Regions from separate parts of the Homo sapiens genome. Here all the other regions are linked to region 3. Evidence: promoter capture Hi-C in 16 types of primary human blood cells and fetal thymus (Javierre and others, 2016). All regions are on one chromosome and are shown on one strand. The core of a region is centred on a gene start or on the middle of the fragment in contact, and the rest is flanking DNA. Distances in the headings are between cores, read along the strand shown. Region 1 holds the start of GCNA (germ cell nuclear acidic peptidase). Region 2 has its middle 38 kb from the start of SNX12. Region 3 holds the start of ITGB1BP2 (integrin subunit beta 1 binding protein 2). Region 4 has its middle 68 kb from the start of SLC7A3.

The links. The method cuts DNA at HindIII sites, captures the fragments that hold promoters and counts their contacts. A CHiCAGO score of 5 or more calls a contact.
Region 1: a contact is called between the fragment with the promoter of GCNA here and the fragment with the promoter of ITGB1BP2 in region 3, in 3 of 17 cell types (activated CD4 T cells, erythroblasts and naive B cells). The highest score is 7.9, in activated CD4 T cells.
Region 2: a fragment that was not itself captured here is called in contact with the fragment with the promoter of ITGB1BP2 in region 3 in 3 of 17 cell types (naive B cells, total CD8 T cells and naive CD4 T cells); the score reaches 6.5 in naive B cells.
Region 4: a contact is called between a fragment that was not itself captured here and the fragment with the promoter of ITGB1BP2 in region 3, in 3 of 17 cell types (naive B cells, total B cells and naive CD4 T cells). The highest score is 6.2, in naive B cells.

Annotation. Positions count from the first base shown.
Region 1 is chrX:71,576,160-71,581,998 of GRCh38, forward strand. It overlaps GCNA (germ cell nuclear acidic peptidase), which reads left to right and starts at 2,278. Exons shown (of 13, transcript NM_052957.5): 1 at 2,278-2,363; 2 at 4,661-4,721. The coding sequence starts at 4,663. RefSeq lists an enhancer at 2,485-3,126. The HindIII fragment of the contact is 6,206 bases long and covers 1-5,734 here.
Region 2 is chrX:71,027,631-71,032,997 of GRCh38, forward strand. No RefSeq gene overlaps it. Among named protein-coding and RNA genes, the nearest start is that of SNX12, 38 kb to the right of the region's middle. The HindIII fragment of the contact is 3,365 bases long and covers 1-2,988 here.
Region 3 is chrX:71,300,500-71,306,130 of GRCh38, forward strand. It overlaps ITGB1BP2 (integrin subunit beta 1 binding protein 2), which reads left to right and starts at 1,251. Exons shown (of 11, transcript NM_012278.4): 1 at 1,251-1,371; 2 at 1,638-1,687; 3 at 1,778-1,834; 4 at 1,912-2,057; 5 at 2,763-2,857; 6 at 2,962-3,017; 7 at 3,128-3,198; 8 at 3,313-3,412; 9 at 3,688-3,801; 10 at 4,043-4,105; 11 at 4,466-4,872. The coding sequence starts at 1,308. The coding sequence ends at 4,693. It overlaps NONO (non-POU domain containing octamer binding), which reads left to right. Exons shown (of 12, transcript NM_007363.5): 12 at 1-669. RefSeq lists an enhancer at 3,049-4,248. The HindIII fragment of the contact is 1,925 bases long and covers 18-1,942 here.
Region 4 is chrX:70,996,128-71,001,905 of GRCh38, forward strand. No RefSeq gene overlaps it. Among named protein-coding and RNA genes, the nearest start is that of SLC7A3, 68 kb to the left of the region's middle. The HindIII fragment of the contact is 397 bases long and covers 3,631-4,027 here.

The sequences.
Region 1 (5,839 bases), core at 1,028-3,527, 280 kb after region 3:
CTTGAGGTCAGGAGTTCAAGACCAGCCTGGCTAACATGGTGAAACCCTGTCTCTACTAAAAATACAAAAAAACTAGCCGGGAGTGGTGGCACACGCTTGTAATCCCAACTACATGCGAGGCTGAGACAGGAGAATCGCTTGAACCCGGGAGGCAGAGGTTGCAGTGAGCTGAGATCGTGCCATTGCATTCCAGCCTGGACAACAGAGTGAGATGTCATCTCAAAAAAAAAAAAAGACAAAGCCTGTGATCCCCAACACACCCATTCATGCTTGCTCCTCTTTTGCTTGTGACCTCTCTGCTTTCATTTACCCTTGTAGTCTCGGTTTTCATGTGGACCATTCTTTTCTTGGCTCTTGGGGGCAAAATTATTTTCCTTCCTGCTCTGTATAGTGGTCGAACTCTGCCACAAGCATCAGGGAGGAAGATATCAATTCATGATTGATATCATGAATTGATATCATGGCAAATGCTGTTTGCCAGTTTTCTCAGATATGAGAGGGAAGATTTTTTTCAGTAAAATTTTGCATGATTTAATTCCCAACTTCTTAAAGCCCTCATGTGGATTGGTGTTTGTTTCCTAAAAGATTATTATGGGAAGAAAGCCTACTCAAAAGTTTTTACTCCCATTCGCTTCTCTTGAAAAATCTACATTATTTCCAGTCTACTTCAGCTCCTCCTGCCTTCAATCTAAAGGAGTTGCTTGCACACCTTGAGTAAATGTGTGTAATTTCTGAACTGCCCATTTTAAGATTTGATTCCAAACCTATCCCATTCTTTTACTTGAAGCATATGCCTCTCAATTATAGCTAACATCCTGGTTCTTTGCCCAAGCCTCTGAGGCACAGTTATGTAATCCCCATTCTTATAAAGAGGCTTGTAGAGGTTAATTTGCAACTTCATTGTAGAGAGAGAGAGTAATCAGCCCCCTTTATCCAATTTTTTTATCAACTGAGAAAGTATCTGTATTTAGGTAGGCAATCTGGTGCTTAAGAGCAGGTTTTGGAACTAGAGTTGGAGTTTGAATCTCAGCTCTGCCACTTTTTTTTTTTTTTTTGAGATGGAGTCTCGCCCTGTCCCCATGCTGGAGTGCAATGGCACGATCTCGGCTCACTGCAACCTCCGCCTCCCAGGTTCCAGCGATTCTCCTGCCTCAGCCTCCCGAGTAGCTGGGATTACAGGCGCGGGCCACCACACGCGGCTATTTTTTTTTTTTTATCTTTAGTAGAGACGGGGTTTCACCATGTTGACCAGGCTGGTCTCAAGCTCCTGACTTCGTGATCCACCCGCCTCAGCCTCCCAAAGTGCTGGGGTTACAGGCGTGAGCCACTGTGCCCGGCCAGCTCTGCCACTTTCTAGCTGTGTGATCTCTAAAATGAGAGTGCTAACAGTTGCCTACTTTTTAAAGTGTTGTATGAATTAAGTCGTAAGACACTTGGAATAATGCTTAGCACAAAATAGTATCAAACGCAGGGACATTTTATGTGTGTTCTGTTACCCAAAGGCATACATTACGAAATATATAGATGCTCGCTGGAGAAACTGGCACAATCTAGAAAGCGCTGTTTTCCCCGTTTGTTTTTCTTGGTGTGTATGGAGTGAGTGCCAAAAAGCCTCAAGTAACCTTTTTTTATCTCCAGGGTTTGGAGGGTTCTGGAAGTAAACATCATAGTTCGCCGTTGCCAGGCGCTGTTGAGTTGCTGCCTTGCTCTTATCTAGGGGTCTAGATGGCCTTCCCTGCAACCCCCGCCCCCCTGCGCTCCCGCGTCCCCCCGCGCCCCGCCCTCCCCTCGGTGTTCCCGTCCACGCCCCTGCTCCCGCGCCTTCGCTCCAGTTCTCGTGCCCCCGCCCCTCCCCCCGCGCCCTTTCCCAGTGGTTGCAATAACGGACTTAGAGGTCTGGACAATTCAAGTAAGGAACAAGGCTCGCTTATCCAAGTTCTCGCAGGATAAAAGTTTGTTATGAACGATTTCACATGGTTTCTCTTTATCAGAAAGTTGTTAGGGACTTTTAATCGCAGAATTGGCCTCGGGTGCCCACGCTCTAGTATTGAAATGGCGGTTTTGGGACAAATAAGCAACATCCGTGGGAGTGGAAAGCGACAGACCTGATCCCGGAAGCGTTACAGCTAGGCGCCAAGTTCACAGGCGCGAAGTTCAAATTTGTCTTGTGACCACTGTGATAGGTGGGTACAGGGGAGCGCGGGCGAGCACACGTGAATTACTGCTACCGCCCCCTAGGTCCGGGCACTATAAAGGGGCCTGCGCCTGGCGTTGTTCATCGCAGTTGCTCCGGATCTTTGCACACACTCCACGGGCAGTTGGAGGTGAGCTGCTGCCGGCCACGCCAGAGGCTGCAACACCAGGTAGGTGACCGGCTGGTCGGACTGAGATGGGTGCTGAAGTGGTCCAGAGGTTAATCCTAATTGAGTGACTTAATTAAAATCAGGACCACTGTATACCTTGGACTCTGGTTGCCCGTGTAGGCCTGAGGTGGGAGTAGAGGAAGTGGCAGCGAGGGGAGAAGTGGAGGCGCCAGTGGTAGCATTGGGGGAGGTGGGGGCGCCCATGGTGGTGTAGGAAACATATGGTGGCGCCAGTGGCGGCATTGGGAGGGGTGGGGGCGCCGGTGGCGGCGTAGGAGCAGCTGGTAGTGCCAGTGGCGGCGTGGGGAGAAGGGGCGCTGGTGGCGTCATTGCAGATAGTGGGGGGCCTGGTGGTGGCGTAGAAGGAGGTGTTGGTGCCAGTGGCGGGTGGAGAGAAGTAGGGGCACCAGTGGCGGCGTTGGGGGAAGTGGGGGTGCCTGTGGCAGTGTCGGGGAAGTGGGGGTGCTGGTGGTGGTGTAGGAGCATGTGGTAGCACCAGTGACGGTGTGGGGAGAAGTAGGGGCACCATTGGCGGCCTTGGGGGAAGTGGGAGCGCTGGTGGTGGCGTAGGAGCGTGTGGTGGCGCCAGTGGCTATGTAGGAATACGTGGCGCCGGTGGCGGCGCGGGGAGAAGTGAGGGCGCTGGTTGCGGCACTGGGGGGAGGTGGGGGCCCCAGTGGTGGTGTAGGAACAGGTGGTGTCCCTAGTGGCGGGTGGGGAGAAGTAGGGATGCCAGTGGCAGCGTGGGGGGAGGTGGGGGTGCCAGTTGCGGCCTAGGAGTACTTGGTGGCGTTGGTGGCATAGGAGCACATAGTAGCGCTGGCGGTGTGGGGAGAAGTGGAGGCGCCGGTGGCCGCATTGAAGGTGGGGGTGCCAATGGGGGCGTTGAGGGAAGTGGGGGGTTCTGGTGGCGGCGTAGGAACACTTGGTGGTGGTGGAAGTGGCCTAGGAGCACGTGGTGGTGCTGGTGGGCGTGGGGAGAAGTGAGGATGCTGGTGGTGGCATTGGAGGTGGGGGTGCCAGTGGCTGTGGGGAGAAGTGGGGGTGCCCGTTGCAGCATTGGGGGGAGGTGGGAGCTAGTGGTTGTGGGTAGGGGTGTGTGTGTGGGGGTTGAGGTCTCTTTGGCTGAGGACTGAGTGGTGGTGGGAGACAGGAGTGGGGTAGGGCAGAAGTTGGATAGAAGTGTGGGGGAGTGGAAGCCTGCTTGGAAAACCGGTTGGGAGCAGTTGAAGGTGGCTGGAGGTGGTTGGAGGTGCGAGTGTGGGGGAAGGGTGGTGGGGTTGAGGCCTGATTGGTGGAAGACTGAGGTGAGAATGGTGGGGGTAGGGTCCAGACCTGATAGGAGGAAGGAGTTGGGGAGGGGTCAAGGCCTGTTTGGTCGAAGATTGGCTAGAGGCTGGAGGCAGGAATAGGAAGCGTGGAGGGGGTGGCCGGATTCATATAAGACCAGTGAGAAGCCAGAGTGGCGGGAGGTAAGGGGGCAGTGGAGGTTGGACAGAAGGAAGAAGGTGATGAGGGGGCGGTGGTAGCCTATTCTGGGTAAGATTGACAGAGTGGGGAGTAAAGAGGTAGGGGAAGGGGGAGAGGTTGACACCCGGTAGGTGGGAGACTTCCTTGGGGCAGGAGTAGGGGGACTGAAGGTTGTAGGGAGGTGGAGGGCCAGTGGGATGTGGGGGCGGTCGAGCCCTGATACGTGGAAGACTGGCAAGTTGAGGTGGGAGTGGAGGGAGTGGGAAGTGGGGGCGGGTGCAGGGTGGGAAGAGATTGGGGTGGTAGAGGCCTGAGTGGGAAAAGTTTGCAACAAAACAAATTTAAATCCTTTTCATTTTGCAGAGCAAAGTTTCGGCTTTAAGGTGGGGAAGATACCCAAAGATAAATGCAGAATGTAAATGTAGAGATGTCTCTGCTTTTGAGTTCTGGCTTTCTTTTTTTTTTCTTTTTATTTTATTTTCTTTTTCTTTTTCTTTTTTGAGATGGAGTCTAGCTCTGTGGCCCAGGCTGGAGTGCAGTGGCACAATCTCGGCTCACTGCAAGCTCTGCCTCCCGGGTTCACGCCATTTTCCTGCCTCAGCCTCTCGAGTAGCTGGGACTACAGGCGCCCGCCACCACGCCTGGCTAATTTTTTGTATTTTTAATAGAGATAGGGTTTCACCGTGTTAGCCAGGATGGTCTCGATCTCATGACATTGTGATCTGCCCGCCTCGGCCTCCCAAAGTGCTGGGATTATAGGCGTGAGCCACTGCGCCCGGCCGAGTTCTGGCTTTCTTAAGAAAGTGTATCTTTGTCTTTCACTACAGACATGGATGGGTGCAAAAAAGAGCTGCCCCGCTTGCAAGAGCCGGAGGAGGACGAGGATTGGTGAGATTTAGAAAGTTCTGTTTTCTTTTAGTTTAGTGTTACCGTATTGGCAAAACAGCTTTCTCGAGAAGTATGTTTATTTCCTTTAGTATCTGTAGAGCGTATAACTTGGTTTGTTATAAAATGAGAATTGTAAAGAAGGATTTTACAAACTAGGAGTCCAGCCTCCTATGAAATTCTTGAATCCGCTATATAATTTCTTTGTTAGTGGCCAGGAAATGACGACATTTGAGGCAACAGTGCATCGTTGAATATATGTGGTTTCTAGAAAGTTCTTCATTCTGATGCAATTAAAACCTGTTGTTCCACGCCAGTATCGATAGTGCTGCCTCTAGAGGTACACAAGTATTTTTCTTCTCCATGATAACACAAGGTGTTTTTGTTTTAAATTTTTTTATGGAGATGCGCCCTGAACCAATAAAGGTTCAGAGAACTTCCAACATGAGGTATTTTTTTTGTGCGTGTGAGAGACAGGGTCTGCTCTGTCGCCCGGGTTGGAGTGCAGTGATGTGATCAGGAGCTATTTTTAAGATAGCTGCCTGTCTCTAAGTTTTTTCTCTTCTGGAACACTACCCTATTTTCCTCCCTCACAGATATGCATGCAAGGGTATGATATGGGGGAAGGTACAAACCAACAGAAAGTCTGGAAATAGACCTAAGTACATAAGAAAATTTACTAAACAAGAAAAACGACATTTCAGCATTTCAAATCAATGGGGAAAAATATGGATTAGTCAACAAACCATTTGAGGATAACTGGCTAACCATTTGGAAAAAAATGAGACTTGGGTTTTTGCCTTATTGCTTATGCCAAAATAGATTACACATGGATCAAATATTTTAAAATAAAAAATGAAACCATTAAAATGTTAGAAAACAATAGATGGATTTTGTTTCCAATAGTTTTTGGAGTAGAAAGGTCTAAGTTTGATATCAAACAAAACATAAATATGGTAAATAAACTGGAAAAATATTTGTGTTACAAATATAAAGGGCTATTTTCCTTAACAAAAAGCTTTTTATAAATCAGTAATTTAGAAAAAGGTGAACAAACGCATGGAACATGACAAAGAATATTAGAAGGTAGCTCTCTGGGAAAAAAAAAAATACAAACGGAC
Region 2 (5,367 bases), core at 56-2,555, 270 kb before region 3:
TCACCATTTGGAATACCCTTATGAAACTAATAATTCAGATAATGATCATCAGTGGATGCTAAGACAATGAGGATGCCTTTCTAACAATGAGGGTAGATGAGAAAGGCAATAAGGACTTTTAAAATAGAAAGATTAAGCTGTCCACAATCTGTACACACTGCTCAGCCATAGTATCACTAAAAGTGGACCAACCAGACATTGGGGTAGCATGTATGAGGGCTTGGATTCAAGAGAAAGAGAGCATGGCATATACCGATCATTGAAAATGGAATTTAGAATTGCTGAGGTACAGAGTGTGAGATGAGGAGTGGTGATAAATGAAGCTGATGCAGGAGCCAGATGTAGGGCCTTGTAAGTCACTTAAAGAATTTTGAATTTTCTCTTAAGGGGACTGGGAAGTCACTGAAGGGTTTTTGTTTTAGAATATATTCTCTGGCTATAGTGTGGGACATGATTTGAGGGTAAAATAAGAGTGGGGGCAAGTAGATGAATTAGGAGACAGTTGCAATAAAGTTTGAGATGACAGTGACCTGGACCAGGGTAGTGGCATTAGGAAAAAAGGTGAAGTATATGGATCCAGTGAATATTTAGCAAATAAACCTGAAAGGATTTGGTGGTAAAATAGAGAGAGGATGGTGTGAAGGTTTTAGACTTGGGGAACTGGGTTGATAGTGCCATTCACTGACATAAGAAACACAAGAGGAGGAGTGGGCTTAGGCTGAGAGGGTGGGGAAGGAAGTAGCTTAGTATGGGAAATAGTGAATTTGCGATGACTATGGAGCATGAAAATAGGCAGATGGCTACCCGGGGTCTGAAGCTCAGAAAAGAGGTCTGGATTGAACATACATTTGTGTGAAGTCAGTGTATAATAAGCAGCTGAAGCCAAGAGAATGGATAAGATGAGCCTAGTCAAAAACAGCAAAGCGGGCAGGCACAGTAGCTCATGCCTGTAATCCCAGCACTTTGGGAGGCCAAGGCAGGCAGATCACTTGAGGTCAGAAGTTTGAGACTAGACTGGCCAATGTGGTGAAACCCCATCTCTACTAAAAATACAAAAATTAGCCAGGTATGGTGGCACGCGCCTGTAATTCCAGCTACTCAGGAGGCTGAGGCACGAGAATCACGCCACTGCACTCCAGCCTGGGTGACAGAGCGAGACCCTGTCTCAAAAAAAAAAAAAAGCAAAGTATAACATGTGACCCTGGAGCCCCATATCTTTTACCTCAAGTAACTTCACACCAGTGGCAGAAGAGAAACCAGATCACAGTGAATTGAAGAGTGGGAGGTGAGGAAAAATAAGGTGAATGAAGGGGAAGAAAGAGAGATGACAGGAACTGAAAGAGGATATGAATTTGTATAGCACCCATTTATGCTGTCCAATTAACCCTTTGCTATATATACTGTCTTATATTATAATATGAATATATGGTATCATCCCCTTCAAAAAATGCCTCACATGCATGTCTAGTCTTCCCAGTAAAATGAAAGCTCCTCATGGAGCTTTTTTAAAATGTCTTTAGGCTGGGCACAGTGGCTCACGCCTTCAGTCCCAGCACTTTAGGAGGCCGAGGCAGGTGGATTGCTTGAGTCCAGGAATTCGAGAGCAGCGTGAGCAACGTGGTAAAATCCCATCTCTATAAAAAATAGAAAAAAATCAGGCAGGTATGGTGGTGCTCACCTGTGGTCCCAGCTATTCGGGAGGCTGAGGTGGGAGGATCACTTGAGCCTGGGAAGTGGAGGTTGCAGTGAGCCAAGATTGTGCCACAGCACTCCAGCCTGGGTGACAGAGTGAGACCCTGTCTCAACAAAAAGAAAAAAAGAAAAAAAAAGTCTTTGAATCCTGTATCCCCCACTGTACATACAGAAGTCAGAGAGCTGTTTGAGATCAGGAGGCTTAGTTGCTGACTATACAAGAACAACCTCCTAGGTAGGCAATATCTTTGTACAAGGTAGTTACTCCAGTGAGGCAGGCAGACAAATTCAGCAGACCAGTCTATATATTAAAAGGTTGATTTGTGAGCACATTTTTTTTTAAAAAGGGAAAAAATGTTTTTTAAAAAAAACAGAAAACAAACAAAAATAAATAAAACAAACGGAGTTTATATCCACAAAGGATATATTAACATCAGATTATATAAGCCTGATAAACTATCTTTCTTGACTCAAGATATTTTTATAAAAAGCCTGACTAACCAGAATTGGGGACAAGAAGTTTAGTGAGAAGAAACTTACTCTTAGCTGTAATGTTTAAATATTTTTATAAGGAGAATGTACTCACATGTTACCTATGTAATTAAACAACAACCGGAAAAAAAAAACCGAAAAGGCTAAAGAAATAAAATGTTATTCTTCCCCTTTCCAGGCTCCTTGCAGATAACCAGGCTTTACCCTTCTATTCATAGATCACTATTTCAGATGGCCAATTTATAAGGCAGTTGAGTAAGTTAGGATTTCTTTACATTATTACATTTCATTCTCTTTTTCCTGAGGCCATATACTCTGGTCTTTGATGGAAACCTAAAAAACATTCCAGTCTCATTAAAAGAAAACCTAGCTCTCTCAGGGTAGATTAATTCTGCAGATGTATGCCTTCAGATAGCTGTTTTTATCCATTTTGTTTCATTTTACTTCATTTTCAGACAGTGACCTTTTCCCATCCTTACTTGCAAATTCTGAGAGCCCCTTTCTATAAGGCACCTTTCCTCCTTTTTAAATAATGTGCAGGAGCACTTGTTGACAGATAGAGCATTAAAAGAAACGGACACATTAATAGGTTTTATCAGTAAGATTTTAGAAGTCTGAACTAGATAACCTCTGTTCCTTACATTTGATGAAGATTCTGATTAAGGTAGAATAGCCTTGGCTGCCTCAAACATTTCTCTTTGCCTCTGGCACCAAGGAGGACACAGACCAAGCCACACCAGGACGATCTCCACTCAAGAATAGCACGTTTGGACTGTGTGAAAGGTCCCCATTTTACAATAAACAAGCTTCCCTATAACTTTGAAACACTAATCCCAGGAAAACACTAGAAATTGGTTCAAGGTAGTATTGTGACAGGTCTGTTGGGTCAGATCCTATATACAACAGCAGGTGAAAGTAGATGAACAGTAGCAATCCCTTATTTGATGGATTGATTTCAACATAGGAAAGGTGTCTAGTCAGGCTGCAAATATTTGAGCTCCGCTCTGCCTTTTTTGATATTTTAAGATAGTCATTTGTATGAAGACACTTAGTGGCATACTAATCAAATTTGCAGATGATAAACTGGAAAAGAAGCTAGTACAACTGGATGACATTCAGGAGTCAAAAGAAGTTTGACAAGCAGGAATGATAAGCTAAATTTCTTAGGCTGAAAAGACAGAGATCAAATTAAAGCCTCATACTAGGTCCTAAAACATAAGCATTTAAGTACCAAATGGATAAATATAGTTGAGTTTTTAGTCTTAGTGATTTCAACTAACTATAGGCTCAACATAATTCAACAGAGTGATCAATGTGGCTGTCAAAAAAAAAAAAAACAAGAAAAGAAAAGAAAAAAAAGCTAACAATTTTGGCCTGCATGAGTAGTAGCATAGGGTCTAGAACAAAGAAAATCACTAACCCACTCTTCTGTACTGATCAGAACATGTACCTGAAATAGTACATTTCATTCTAGATGCCAATCTTTAAAGAGAGATATTCATGAGCTGAAGTATGAACAGAACAGAATAACCAGAATGATGAGGAGATCTTCAAACTCTGCCATGAGAGTAATGGCAGTAAAGGAACTGCAGATGTTTAGCACAGAGAAGACAAGACTTAGTAGAGGAAACCAATGGCCACTGTTTTCAAATATAAAGGGTTGCCCAATAATGAAGGAGACTGTCTCTCGAGCAATTTCCTCAAATAATGAAGTATTCAAGCACAGATCTAAACTCACTTGGTGGAGATATTGGAAGGGATTCAAAAGCCTGGGATAAATCCTAGGTCTCTCAGCTAAAGGAGCCCCAAAGTGATGACACCTCAGTAGCAATAAGTATACCCCAGCACAGAGATCCTGGTTGCTAAATATCATTCCCCACTTAAGGGAGCCAGGCTTCCTTGGAGAAATAGCTGATTCCAAGGTTAGGGCCAGGAAAATACATGATAAGCCTGAAATATTCCTGTTGTCCCAGAAAGTAAGAAAGTGCCAAAGAATGATGGAGGCATGTCAATGGACACAGAAACCAGCTTGAAGAAGCTCCCACTGACCAAATCTGGGCCAATTAGAGCATCAAAATAAACAGTAAAACGTTATAACTCATGTAATAAGTAAGAATCCATGAGTCCATACTGATAATCAATTAATTAATCAATACATAGGGTAAAAGGAAAGCTCTTCTTTACAATTGAATGCCAGCAAATAAGTGTAGAACTAATGATGTATTTAGAAAATCACCATTTTTGAAATATAATAGTAATAACTGATTCAGGCAATAATCAATGAATGTTAAAATCTATTGGCTGAGACTTTGATATGGAATAGGACATTTTATACAGTCTCAAAGTGTCCCCCCACAAATTGCATATTTATTACAAAGGTAAAAATGGTAACTTTAGAGTGGAGAAACCTGGCAGACCCTACTTTAACCAAGTAGTCAAAGTTAATATCACCAATAATGGGGCAAAGTGATATCATGTACCTCCTGTTGCCAATGCACTGAGAACACATCACTTCTGTGATATTCCTACAAAAAGAAGCATAATCTGAATCTAATCATGAGGAAACATTAGACAAACCCAAACTAAGGAACATTATACAAAATATCTGGCCTGTACTCTTCAAAAGTGTCAATGTCAGGAAAGACAAAGAAAAGCTGAGAAACTACTCCAAATTAAAGGCAATTAAAGTGACATGACAACTAAATTCAATGTATAATCCTGGACTGTATTCTGGACTGGGGAAAAATGCTATAAAGGAAATTATTAGGACAAGAGGTAAAAGCTGAATGTGGACAGCAGTGGTATTACATCAATGTTAATTTTCCTGATTTTGATCATTATGCTGTGGTTTTGTAAGAGGATGTCCCTGTTCTCAGGAAAGATATGCTGAAGTATTTAGGAGTATAGGGGCCTTATGTCTCCAGGTTATTCTGATTCAGAGAAAAAATAGATAAAGATAGAGATAGAATGATAAAGCAAATGTGGCAACATGTTAAAAATATATGAATCTGGGTTAAGGGTAAGTGGAAGTTCTTTGTAATATTACTGTAACTTTTCTTTAAGTTTGAAATAATTTTGAAGTTTTTAAAAGCTTTGAATGATTAAAAAAGACAGAAAACTATACTAAATGTTCTCTAAAGTTCTAACAAGGCCATCAGCAAGAGATAAATTCTAAAACTAAGG
Region 3 (5,631 bases), core at 1-2,500:
TCTGCCTCCCGGGTTCAAGCTTGTCCAGGTTGATCTTGAACTCCTGACCTCGTGATCTACCCACCTCGGCCTCCCAAAATGCTGGGATTACAGGGGTGAGCCACCGTGCCCAACCTCACTTGCTTCTTATCCTTACACTCCCCCAGCCCCAGAGAAACTGCCACATACACCACAAAAACCAAACATCCCCCAATGACCTTAGCCCCATTGCTCCATTCACTCCCAGGTGAGAATTCAGGCAAACGTCCACAAAGGTCACAGGCAGCGTACATACGGTTCTGTTATACCCCATATATTACCCCTTCATGTCCTAAAGAAGACATTTTCTCTTAGAGATTTTCATTTTAGTGTATCTTTAAAAAAAAATCTTGTGTTAACTTGCCTCCATCTTTTTCTTGGGTGAGGACACCCAGGAATGACCCTTTTGTGTCTATGATGTTGCTGTTCACAGCTTTTCTTGATAGGCCTAGTACAATCTTGGGAACAGGGTTACTGTATACTGAAGGTCTGACAGTAGCTCTTAGACTCGCCTATCTTAGGTAGTCATGCTGTGCATTTTTTTTTTCATTGGTGTACTGTGTTTGATTTGTCTCATATATTTGGAGTTTTTCTGAAAAATGGAGCAGTAATGCAGCATCAACCTATTAAAATACATTTTAAGCCTTTTAATTTTCTGTGGTGTTTTTGAAGGGGAAAGGAGGGAGGGGAGTTATCTTAGGAGATGAGCAGTAGACTCTATAAAGGTAATCCTTTATGACCTTTGGATTACAGTATTGATCTAGACAAACATGGGGAGGAGGTGGGGATGAGGTGCATCAAATGGCTGGAGGGGTTGGCAAGGATTAGCGCTATTGATACTACATGGAAGTAATGATGGAGGAAAGCTGCCCCTCTGAAAGAGGAAGAAAATGGGCTTAATCCTCATCGAGCTGGGGGCGCGGGGGGGGTCTCAAAATTGGTATTTGTTTCTTAGCAGCTGCTGCTGTGTCCAAGGCTTGGAATTGCTGTGGTGAATCTAAAACTGTCTCAGTAGTGGTGAGCTGACCTCACCCAAGTTCAAAGCCCTACTCTGCCTGATCCTTTTTTCCTGAGCCTCAGAGCTAAAATGCCCCCGAGCTCTTTCCTATTGGCTGGAAAGACGAATTGAAGTTCCCTTGCCCATGTTAGGAGGTGTACGCCTCCTGAACTAAAGATAGAAACAGCTGGCCCTTCCAGGCAGCTAAAAGCCTCCAGACTAAGAGGTGTTCCCCATTCGGCAGCCAGACTCCTTGAAATACCCTTTCAGTAATCATTCAACCAACGCTTCCATGTCTCTACTCTGTCGTAACAAAGGCTGTGGGCAGCACTTTGACCCTAATACCAACCTTCCTGGTGAGTAAAGAATCCTGACCTGGCCAGGGGCTCTGTGTGGGTGTTGGGGACTGGTCAGCTGGGGGGCAGTGTGTTTGAGGAGCGGGGAAAGAAACTACCTGCCCTAGTTTAATTGGTCTGAGTGATCTTACAGCCTTTGCTGGCTTTTTTTTTTTTCTTCACATTATATGGGAAGAAACCATAAATAGAAACCCGGGGAAGAGGTGAAAAATGATACTTGGTATAGTTATCTTCCCTTCCTTGATAACTTCTACTGATGTCCACAGATTCCTGTTGCCATCACCCTGGGGTCCCAATCTTCCATGATGCACTTAAGGTGAGGAGTAGGTGAGGGGGGTTAGCAAGAGCATTTCCCAGAAGAGATAATACCCAGGAAGCTAAGCTGATCTGGGTCTCTTGTTATCAGGGTTGGTCCTGCTGCCGAAAGCGAACTGTAGATTTCTCTGAGTTCTTAAACATCAAGGTAAATTATTTATGTACTTGGATTCTGCCCCCAATAGAAGGATTCTATCCCTAATCCTATCTCCTTATCTATACTAGGGCTGTACTATGGGACCACACTGTGCTGAGAAGCTTCCTGAGGCCCCTCAACCTGAAGGCCCTGCTACAAGCAGTTCACTTCAGGAGCAAAAACCTCTGAATGTGATTCCAAAGTCAGCAGAGACCTTGCGCCGGGAGAGGCCCAAGTAAAGAGGAGGAGGCCCCTGGACTTTTCTTATTTTCATGTAGCTTCCTAGGAGTGATTAATGGGTCATTGAGGACTGGGAACTAGGGACCAGGGATGTGAGGAGGGCCAGATGTCAGGGTTTGGATGGTGTATATCCTGTGCCTTAGGGGAAATTTGTGTCTGGAAATAACGCCCTTTCCTCTAAGGTGGTGTGGGATGATGGGATAGATACCTGAATCAACAGAGTAGATAGCCCCTCACAAATACATCCTTAGTGTATAACACAAAAGGGATTGTTGAGAATGACTTCTCTTTCTAGAAAAGAACTTTAAGATAAATCTCATATCAAGAAAAGGATGTATTGTATTATTGGCAGCCAGGAGACTTCCCAAATTTTGTGGGAATAATAAGAGCAACAGAAGGAAGTCATATTAGGTCCACGATTAGATAAAGAGGAAGAGGATATGACTCAGTTCTGCAGAGAAAAGTGGTTAGGTTTAGAGCAACTGAGTAGATGGGTAAGAGAAGTGCTGGGGATTTCTCTAGGGTTCAGGTATTTGGGATGTCCACAGAGATGAAAATTGGCAATGGGGTTGCTACCCAACCTCTCCAACTCTGCCTCACTTTCACCAGGCTTCTTTAATTCCATTACCATCGGTGGGAGTGTTGGAGCTAGCAATCATAGCTAATGGGTCAGAACTAAATCACCACCCTTAACCCCTAGGTCAGAGTTGCCTCTGAAGCTGCTGCCGCTAAATATATCCCAAGCCCTGGAAATGGCATTGGAACAGAAGGAATTAGACCAGGAACCTGGGGCAGGTAGGTGGGTCTTTAGTAGGATCAACTTCATAGACTGGAATTTAGTGGAAGTGGCAATTGAGTGGGGGGATGGATAAGTTCCTGACTCTGTTTCCCTTGCCCAGGACTTGACAGTCTGATCCGGACTGGTTCCAGCTGCCAGAACCCAGGATGTGATGCTGTGAGTGAGAGTTTTGAGGGGCTCAAGCATATGGCTGAGGGATGACTGGGTATAGATAGGCTGAGTAGGATATACCTTAGAATGACCTGGTTCTACTTTATCCTTCTTAGGTTTACCAAGGCCCTGAGAGTGATGCTACTCCATGTACCTACCACCCAGGAGCACCCCGATTCCATGAGGGGTGAGGGAGGGGACTGGGTGGGCTATGAGGCTATGAGACAGGTTTCTCCTAATATTTGGTCATAAGATAATATTGGGGGTGAGAGAATTCAGTTGAATTATCTTCCTACTTCAGGATGAAGTCTTGGAGCTGTTGTGGCATCCAGACCCTGGATTTTGGGGCATTCTTGGCACAACCAGGGTGCAGAGTCGGTAGACATGACTGGGGGAAGCAGGTAAGCCCCAGCTTTCCTGAACTCTTGATTAGAACCCAATCTCAGAGGTAAATTCTCCTCCCTCTCTGTACCACATAGCCAAGCTCCCTGTCTTCTCCCTTTAGTATAGACCAAATAAGATTCTGCTCCTTATCCCTCAACAGCCCAGAGGTTTTGCAATATGAGGTTGTGTTAATCTTTTTGAGACTCTCTGTCTCTTCTCCACGTGCATCATGAGAACTCCCCTTCAGTTAAGAATTTATTCTTACCACCTGCATTTCACATCTTCTCTTTAGCTCCCAGCATCTTGCCGCCATGATTGGCACCAGACAGATTCCTTAGTAGTGGTGACTGTATATGGCCAGATTCCACTTCCTGCGTTTAACTGGGTGAAGGCCAGTCAAACTGAGGTGAGCAATGATCTGATGTTGGATGGGAGGATAGTCAATTGGGTGATACTACAATCTCACAGGCAGAGTTGCCATTTGCTGTTAACCTGTAGGCTCCATAGTACCCTTAGAGGAAAGGAGAGTTATTAGGTCAGGGCTGTCTGGCCAACCTGTGGATCATACCTCTGACCTGGTTATCTGTCGTAATGACCTATTCTGACCTTCTGGGTTTGTTACTACCCCTGTAATTCTTTTCTCTCAGCTTCATGTCCACATTGTCTTTGATGGTAACCGTGTGTTCCAAGCACAGATGAAGCTCTGGGGGGTAAGTGAAGACCAGGGGACACAAGAGTGGGAGGCAGATGGGTGAAAGAGCGGCTAGACTGGAATAGAGGGTGTCTTGAGGGAAGGAGTTGTACTAGGAAAATGGAGGTTTTCTCTTCATTTGCTTTCATTTTCTCTCTCTCTCCTACTCTTCCTATTTCCCTCTTTCCCTCCCCTCTTCCTTCTCCCTTTTCATCTCTCATTTCTTTCCTCTCTCTCCCTTATTGTCTTATTCCTCCCTTACCTTTTTTCTTACCTTATTAAAAATTTCTCTCTCTCATTTGTCACCACTCCACCCTGACCCCAATGCCTTTGATTTCCTCATTCTCTCTTTCTTCTGTTTTCCTTTGCTCCTCCTCAGGTCATAAACGTGGAGCAGAGCTCTGTCTTCTTGATGCCATCTCGGGTTGAAATCTCCCTGGTCAAGGCTGACCCAGGATCCTGGGCCCAGCTGGAGCACCCTGATGCACTAGCTAAGAAGGCTAGGGCAGGGGTTGTGTTAGAGATGGATGAGGAAGAATCTGACGATTCAGATGATGATCTGAGCTGGACAGAGGAGGAGGAAGAGGAGGAAGCAATGGGGGAATAGTGACACCAGACAGTTGATGTCTAGATAGGACCTCAATGATTCCCTTAGAATCTTAGATACCAGGATATTGTTGGCCATGTGGCATCATTGAGCAGCAGGAGGCTGAAGGAGGGGAGAACAAAATTGTCCAAACCATGCTGTTTTTTTCCCTTAAATAAATCTTGTATTCTTCAGTTTCACATAGTGTCATTCTCTCACCTCACTATCTAAGATTGTATTTATTACCCCCAACTGTGTGTTCAACACACATTGTGAAAACAAGCACATGCACATTCAATCTATTCCTCATAAACACCAGGTATTTACTGAGTACTCCCTATGTGCCCAGTTATGTGTTAGGTGGTTTAGAAATATCTGAGAAACAGAAGACTTACTCATTTCTCTCAACAAAGTAACAACCTGGCTGACAAGTCAAGACCAATCTACATGAAATAATAATAAACATTATCAGGTAGTTTAACTGAGTGCCAAATTGTGCAGTACAGTTTTTAAGAGCTGTAGTTGAAAGAATGGAAAAGTTAATGTGGACAGTAGCAAAAGGGAAGACTCCGTGGTGGAAGAAGTCCTTTTTTTTTTTTTTTTTTTTTTTTTAGACGGAGTCTTGCTTTGTCGCCCAGGCTGGAGTGCAGTGGTGCGATCTCGGCTCACTGCATCCTCTGCCTCCTGGGTTCAAGCGATTCTCCTGCCGAGTAGCTAAAACTACAGGCGCTTGCCACCATGCCCAGCTAATTTGAAATACAGTTTATTTTTTTCTTTGGTTGCTTATGCTTTTGATGTCATATCTAAGAAACCATTACCTAATCCAAGGTCATGAACATTTGTCCCTACCTTTTCTTCTTTTTTTTTTTTCTTTTTTTTTTGAGACGGAGTCTTGCTCTGTTGCGCAGGCTGGAGTGCAGTGGCGCAATCTTGGCTCACTGCAAGCTCCACCTCCGAGG
Region 4 (5,778 bases), core at 2,579-5,078, 300 kb before region 3:
GAAGTCTACAGCTATTATTGTATTAGGTTCTGTCTCTTTCTTTAGCTCTAATAATATTCCTTTTGTATATCAGGGTGCTCTGGTGTTGGATGCATATGTATTTAAAATTGTTATATCCTCTTGCTGAATTTATCATTATATAATGACCTTCTTTGTCTCTTTATATATAATGACCTTCTTTGTCTCTTTATATATATTTATATTTATATTATATAATGACCTTCTTTGTCTCTTTATAGTTTTTGTCTTGAAATCTATTTTGTCTGACAGAAGTACAGCTACTCCTTCTCCTTTTTTATTTCCATTGGCATGGAATATCTTTTTCCATCCCTTTATTTTCAGTCTATGTGTGTCTTTATAGGGGAAGTGTGCTTCTTGTAGGCAACAGATCATTGGGTCTTGCTTTTTTTTTATCCATTCAGCCACTCTGTGTCTTTTGATTGGAGAGTTGAGTCCATTTACATTCAATGTTATTATTAAACTGATGACAACTTAACACTAATTGCATGAACAAACAAGGTAACTAACAAACAAGCAAAGAGAAAACTAATAAAAACTCTACACTTTAACCTCATCCTCCAGCCTTATAACTTTTTGTTGTTTCTATTTATATTTTATTGTACTGTTTATGTCTTGAAAAGTTGTCATAGTTATTATTTTTGATCGGTTCATCTTTTAGTCTTTCTACTCAAGATATGAGTATTTATGCATTGCAATTACAATGTTATAATATTTTGTGTTTTTCTGTGTACTTACTGTTACCCGTGAGTTTTGTATTATACCTTCAGATGATTTCTTATTCCTCATTAGTATCCTTTTCTTTCAGACTGAAGAACTCCCTTTAGCATTTCTTGTAAGATAAGTCTGGTTTTGATGAAATCCCTCAGCTTTTGTTTGTCTGGAAAAGTCTTTATTTCTCCTTCATGTTTGAAGGATATTTTTGCCAGATGTACTATTTTAGGGTAAAAGTTTTTTCCTTCAGCACTTTAAATATGTCACGCCACTCTCTCCTGGCCTGTAAGGTTTCCACTGAAAAGTCTGCTGCTGGATATATTGGAGCTCCATTGTATGTTTTTTTTTCTTTCTTTTCTCTTGCTGCTTTTGGTATCTTTTATTTTTATTTTATTATTATTATTTTTTGAGGCAGAGGCTCCCTCTGTCACCCAGACAGAGGGAGTGCAGTGGCACAGTCTCAGCTCACTGCAACCTCCACCTCCCAGGTTCTAGCAATTCTCATGCTTCAGCCTCCTGAATAGCTGGGACTGCAGGGGGAGGGCACCATGCCTGGCTAATATTTTTTTTAATTTTTAGTAGAGACAGGGTTTCACCATGTTAGCCAGGCTGGTCTCGAACTCCTGGCCTCAAGTGACCCACCCACCTTGGCCTCCCAGAGTGTTGGGATTACAGGCATGAGCCACTGTGCCCAGCCTGGATCCTTTCTTATTCTTGACCTTCGGAAGTTTGATTATTAAATCATAGTCTTATTTCAGTTCAATCTACTTGCTGTTCTATAACTCTCTTGAATTCAAGTATTGATAACTTTCTCTAGGTTTGGGAAGTTCTCTGTTATTGTCCCTTTAAATAAACTTTCCACCCCTATCTCTCTCTCCCATCTCTTTATGGCCAATAACTCTTAGACTTGCCCTTTTGAGGCTATTTTCTAGATCTTGTAAGAGTGCTTCATTCTTTTTTATTATTTTTTCTTTGGTCTCCTCTGACTGTGGGTTTTTTTTTCCAAGGTCTTGCTCTTTCACCCAGGCTGTCGTGCAGTGGCACAATCATAGCTCATTGCAGCCTTGAACTCCTAGATTCAAGTGATCCTCCTGCCTCAGCCTCCTGAGTAGCTAAGACTACAGGCACACATGCCACCATACCCAGCTAATTAAAAAAAAATTTTTTATAGAAATGATGCCTTGTTATGTTGCCCAGGCTGGTCTTAAACTCCTGGGCTCAAGTGATCCTCCTGCTTCAGCCTCCCGAAGTGCTGGGATTACAGACATAAGCTACTATGCCTGGCCATGTATTTTCAAATGGCCTGTCTTCAAGCTCATTAATTCTTTCTTCTGCTTGATCAATTCTGCAATTAAGAAACTCTGATTCATTCTTCAGTGTGTCAATTACATTTTTTAACACCAGAATTTCTGCTTGATACTTTTTAATTATTTAAATCTCTGTGTTAAATTTATCTGATAGGATTCTGAATTCCTTATCTGTGTTATCTTGAATTTTCTTGAGTTTCTTCAAAACAGCTATTTCAAATTCTCTGTCCGAAAGATCACATATCTCTGTCTCTCCAGGCTTGGTCCTTGGTGCCTTATTTAGTTCATTTGGGAAGATCATGTTTTCCTAAATGGTCTTCGTGCTTGTGCATGTTCGTCAGTGTCTAAGTATTGAAATGTTAGGTGTTTAGTAGTCTTTGTAGTCTGGGCTTGTTCATACCCGTCCTTCTTGGGAAACTTTCCAGGTATTCGAAGGGACTTTGGGTGTTGTGATCTAAGTTTTTGGTCACTGTAGTCACATCTACGTTAGGGGGCACCCCAAGCTCAGTAACACTGTGGCTCTTGCAGACTCATTGAGGTACTGCCTTGGTGGTCTTGGATCAGATCCGAAAGAATTCTCTGGATTACCAGACAGAAACTTTTTTTCTCTGCCCTTACTTTTACCCAAACAAACAGAGTCTCTCTCTCTCTCTCTCTTCTCTCTCTCTCTCTCTCTCTCTCTCTGTCTCTGTGCCGAGATGCCTGCAGCTGAGGGAGGGCAGAAATGCTTTTTTAAGTTACCACCCAGTTCTAAAGTTGCACTTTGATTAACTTGGTTATTTCCTATGTTTTCATTAGCAACACAGTTGTAAACCACTTCTCCACATAGTTAATCTCATCTCTTAAATGACAGTTATTATTAAAATTTCAATGAGTAATTCTTTTTCTGAGTTCTTAGTTTCCTATATACTTATTACAGCATTAATCATGTTACCTGACAATACCTACTCACTAATCAATTCCCAGTGAGAATTGTTAGACACTTATATCCAGTAGCAAGAAAGAAAAAAATTAAAATCCTTAAGACAAATAGTTAGGGATATGCTTTCAAATCTGGGATGTACAGTAATTGAAAGTGTGAGCCTCCTTGGCAACTCCCAGAGGACATACATTAACAGTAATCAATCCACTGTGTGGCTTGTTACATAAGTACTATAGAAGCCTTGGGAACATTTGGAATCTGACAGAAGCCTTATGGAAGTGGTTCCATGGGGGTTGGCTATTTGCATATTTTCCTCCTATTACAGATAAGGGAAAAAAGACTGAAAGAATATATACCAAAATGTTAATATTGATTATTCCTGGGGAGTAGGGCTGCCAGTTTTCTTTTATTTTTTATCTGTATTATCTAAAATTTCTAAAATAAATATAACTATTATAAGAAAATTCCAAATAATAAAAGTCCAAAAAGATGGTTTGTTTTAACAGTAAGTAAGCTGAGTTGCATTTTCTACCATCTGTTTCAGTCAGGGAAATGAATAACATCTTCTAGGGCAAAGTAACAGGGTAAATGGAGACCCAGAGAAAGACTGATTGTTCTCTATGATAAGCATTCTCTAGAACATAAAAGGAAGTAATGAACAGGACTCCAAGCTTTGTTCTTTTGTGTCTCACTCCCTCTCGATTCTTCTCTGGCTTTGTTCCACACTCTGAACATCCTAAATCAACTTACAAGTGGTGGTCACCAAAAGAATCTACAAGGAAGATTGTCTCTCTAGACTCTGATTCCATCAAATATCCCCTTTCTCTTCTATTTTCCACATTTTCTTATATACCTACAGACAGGCTTAACGTTTCCCCATTCTAAAACAAAGTTAAAACACTATTTCTCCCCTATCTCGTTACAAACTACCATCCTTTCTACCTCCTTCCTTTCATAGCCAGATTTCTGGAACAATTAATCTACAACCACTGTCCTTTCGCCCTGTCCATTTGTTCAATTTGCTGCAGTCTGCCTTCTGCCGTGACTCCAACAAACTTTAAAGGAAAGCTTCCTAGTTGCTGAACTTATTGGCCCATATTTATACAGCCTAAGGCGATTGGTTGCTCTTATTTCCCAGAAGTTCTTCTTGGCCTCTGGGAAGAAAGGAGTGAAATGGGAAGAAATGACACTACTGTCTCTTCATTTTTTTTTCTTACCTTTCCCTTTCAGACTTCCCTCTTCTGTTCAACACTTATTCATTGGGATTCCCTAGGGTTATGTCCTAGTCTCTTATCTTCTTACACCACCTGGAACAAAGTTTATCTACTTACACAGCTTCAACTATCATCTATACAATGACAGATTGCAAAATTTTTTTTACAGTTAAATCTAAGTTGCTTTATTCTTTTTTTTTTTTATATATATACTTTAAGTTTTAGGGTACATGTGCACAATGTGCAGGTTAGTTACATATGTATACATGTGCCATGCTGGTGTGCTGCACCCATTAACTCGTCATTTAACATTAGGTATATCTCCTAATGCTATCCCTCCCCTCTCCCCCGACCCCACAACAGTCCCCAGAGTGTGATGTTCCCCTTCCTGTGTCCATGTGTTCTCATTGTTCAATTCCCATCTATGAGTGAGAACATGCAGTGTTTGGTTTTTTGTCCTTGCGATAGTTTACTGAGAATGATGATTTCCAATTTCATCCATGGAAATTTTTAATAATAGCCTCGAACTCTTGCTTAAGCTCTAGATTTGTATTTCCAAATTACAATTAAGCATCTTTACCTACAGGTTACAAAGAGGTACCCTAAGCTCCACTAGTCTAAAATCAGACTTACCTTCTCTACTGCCACAATTTACTAAATTCTTGAATTACATTCTCATTCACAATCGCAAGCCATGTTCCTAAGCTAGAAGCTTTTGCTTTTGCCTTAATTATCCCTTCTCCCTAACGCTGCACATCTAATCAATCAGCATACAGTCCTGTTGATTTTAACTCATAAATATCATTCTGTCAAGCCTAGCCTTTCCCCCATACTGCCTCGATCTTGGTTCAGACTCTCATAATGTCCAGCTTGGACTATTACGTCTGCTAAGTAGTCCTGCCACCAATCTCTCTCCATTCTACACCTGTTCAACTTCCACACTACTTTCGAAATGATCTTTACAAAACAAAACTCACTCTTTTGACTCCTCGGTGCCTACAGGATAAAACACAACTCCTTGGTCTAGCATGTTAGGATTCAGTCCAGGTTGTTAGCCTCACGCTCTACTCCACCCCCAAACTCCTGCATGCTAAGCTTCTCACCATTCCACAAACACAGCAGGCCCTATAATGTCTCCATGTCTTCACACATTGTATCCTGTCCTCTTAGAATGTCCTTTTCTTTCTTCCTCACCTGACAATGTCCTACTCATCCTTTAGTATGTGTCTTCTTGGGAAAGACAAACTAGCTATTATTTATCAAGGAGTTTTGCTAAACAATTTATGTTCATTAGCTTATTTTAATCCTCAATCAATTCTATAACTACTATTATCATTTTACAGATGAAAAAGCTGAGATTTAAAGGGGCTAAATAGCATTGTCATCTAGTAAATGGTGGGATTTAAATATAGGTCTTCAAAACCTGAACTTTTAACCACTATGCTACAGGCAATGTGTATTAAACATAGTTGATTGTTCTGTTCTCTGTGTTCCCATAGCACTCTGTTCACCACTCTGCAATGGCAGTTACCACACTAGAATGTAATATTTCTGTTTACACAATATCATCCCCCACTAGATGTAAGATACATGGTGATAGAAA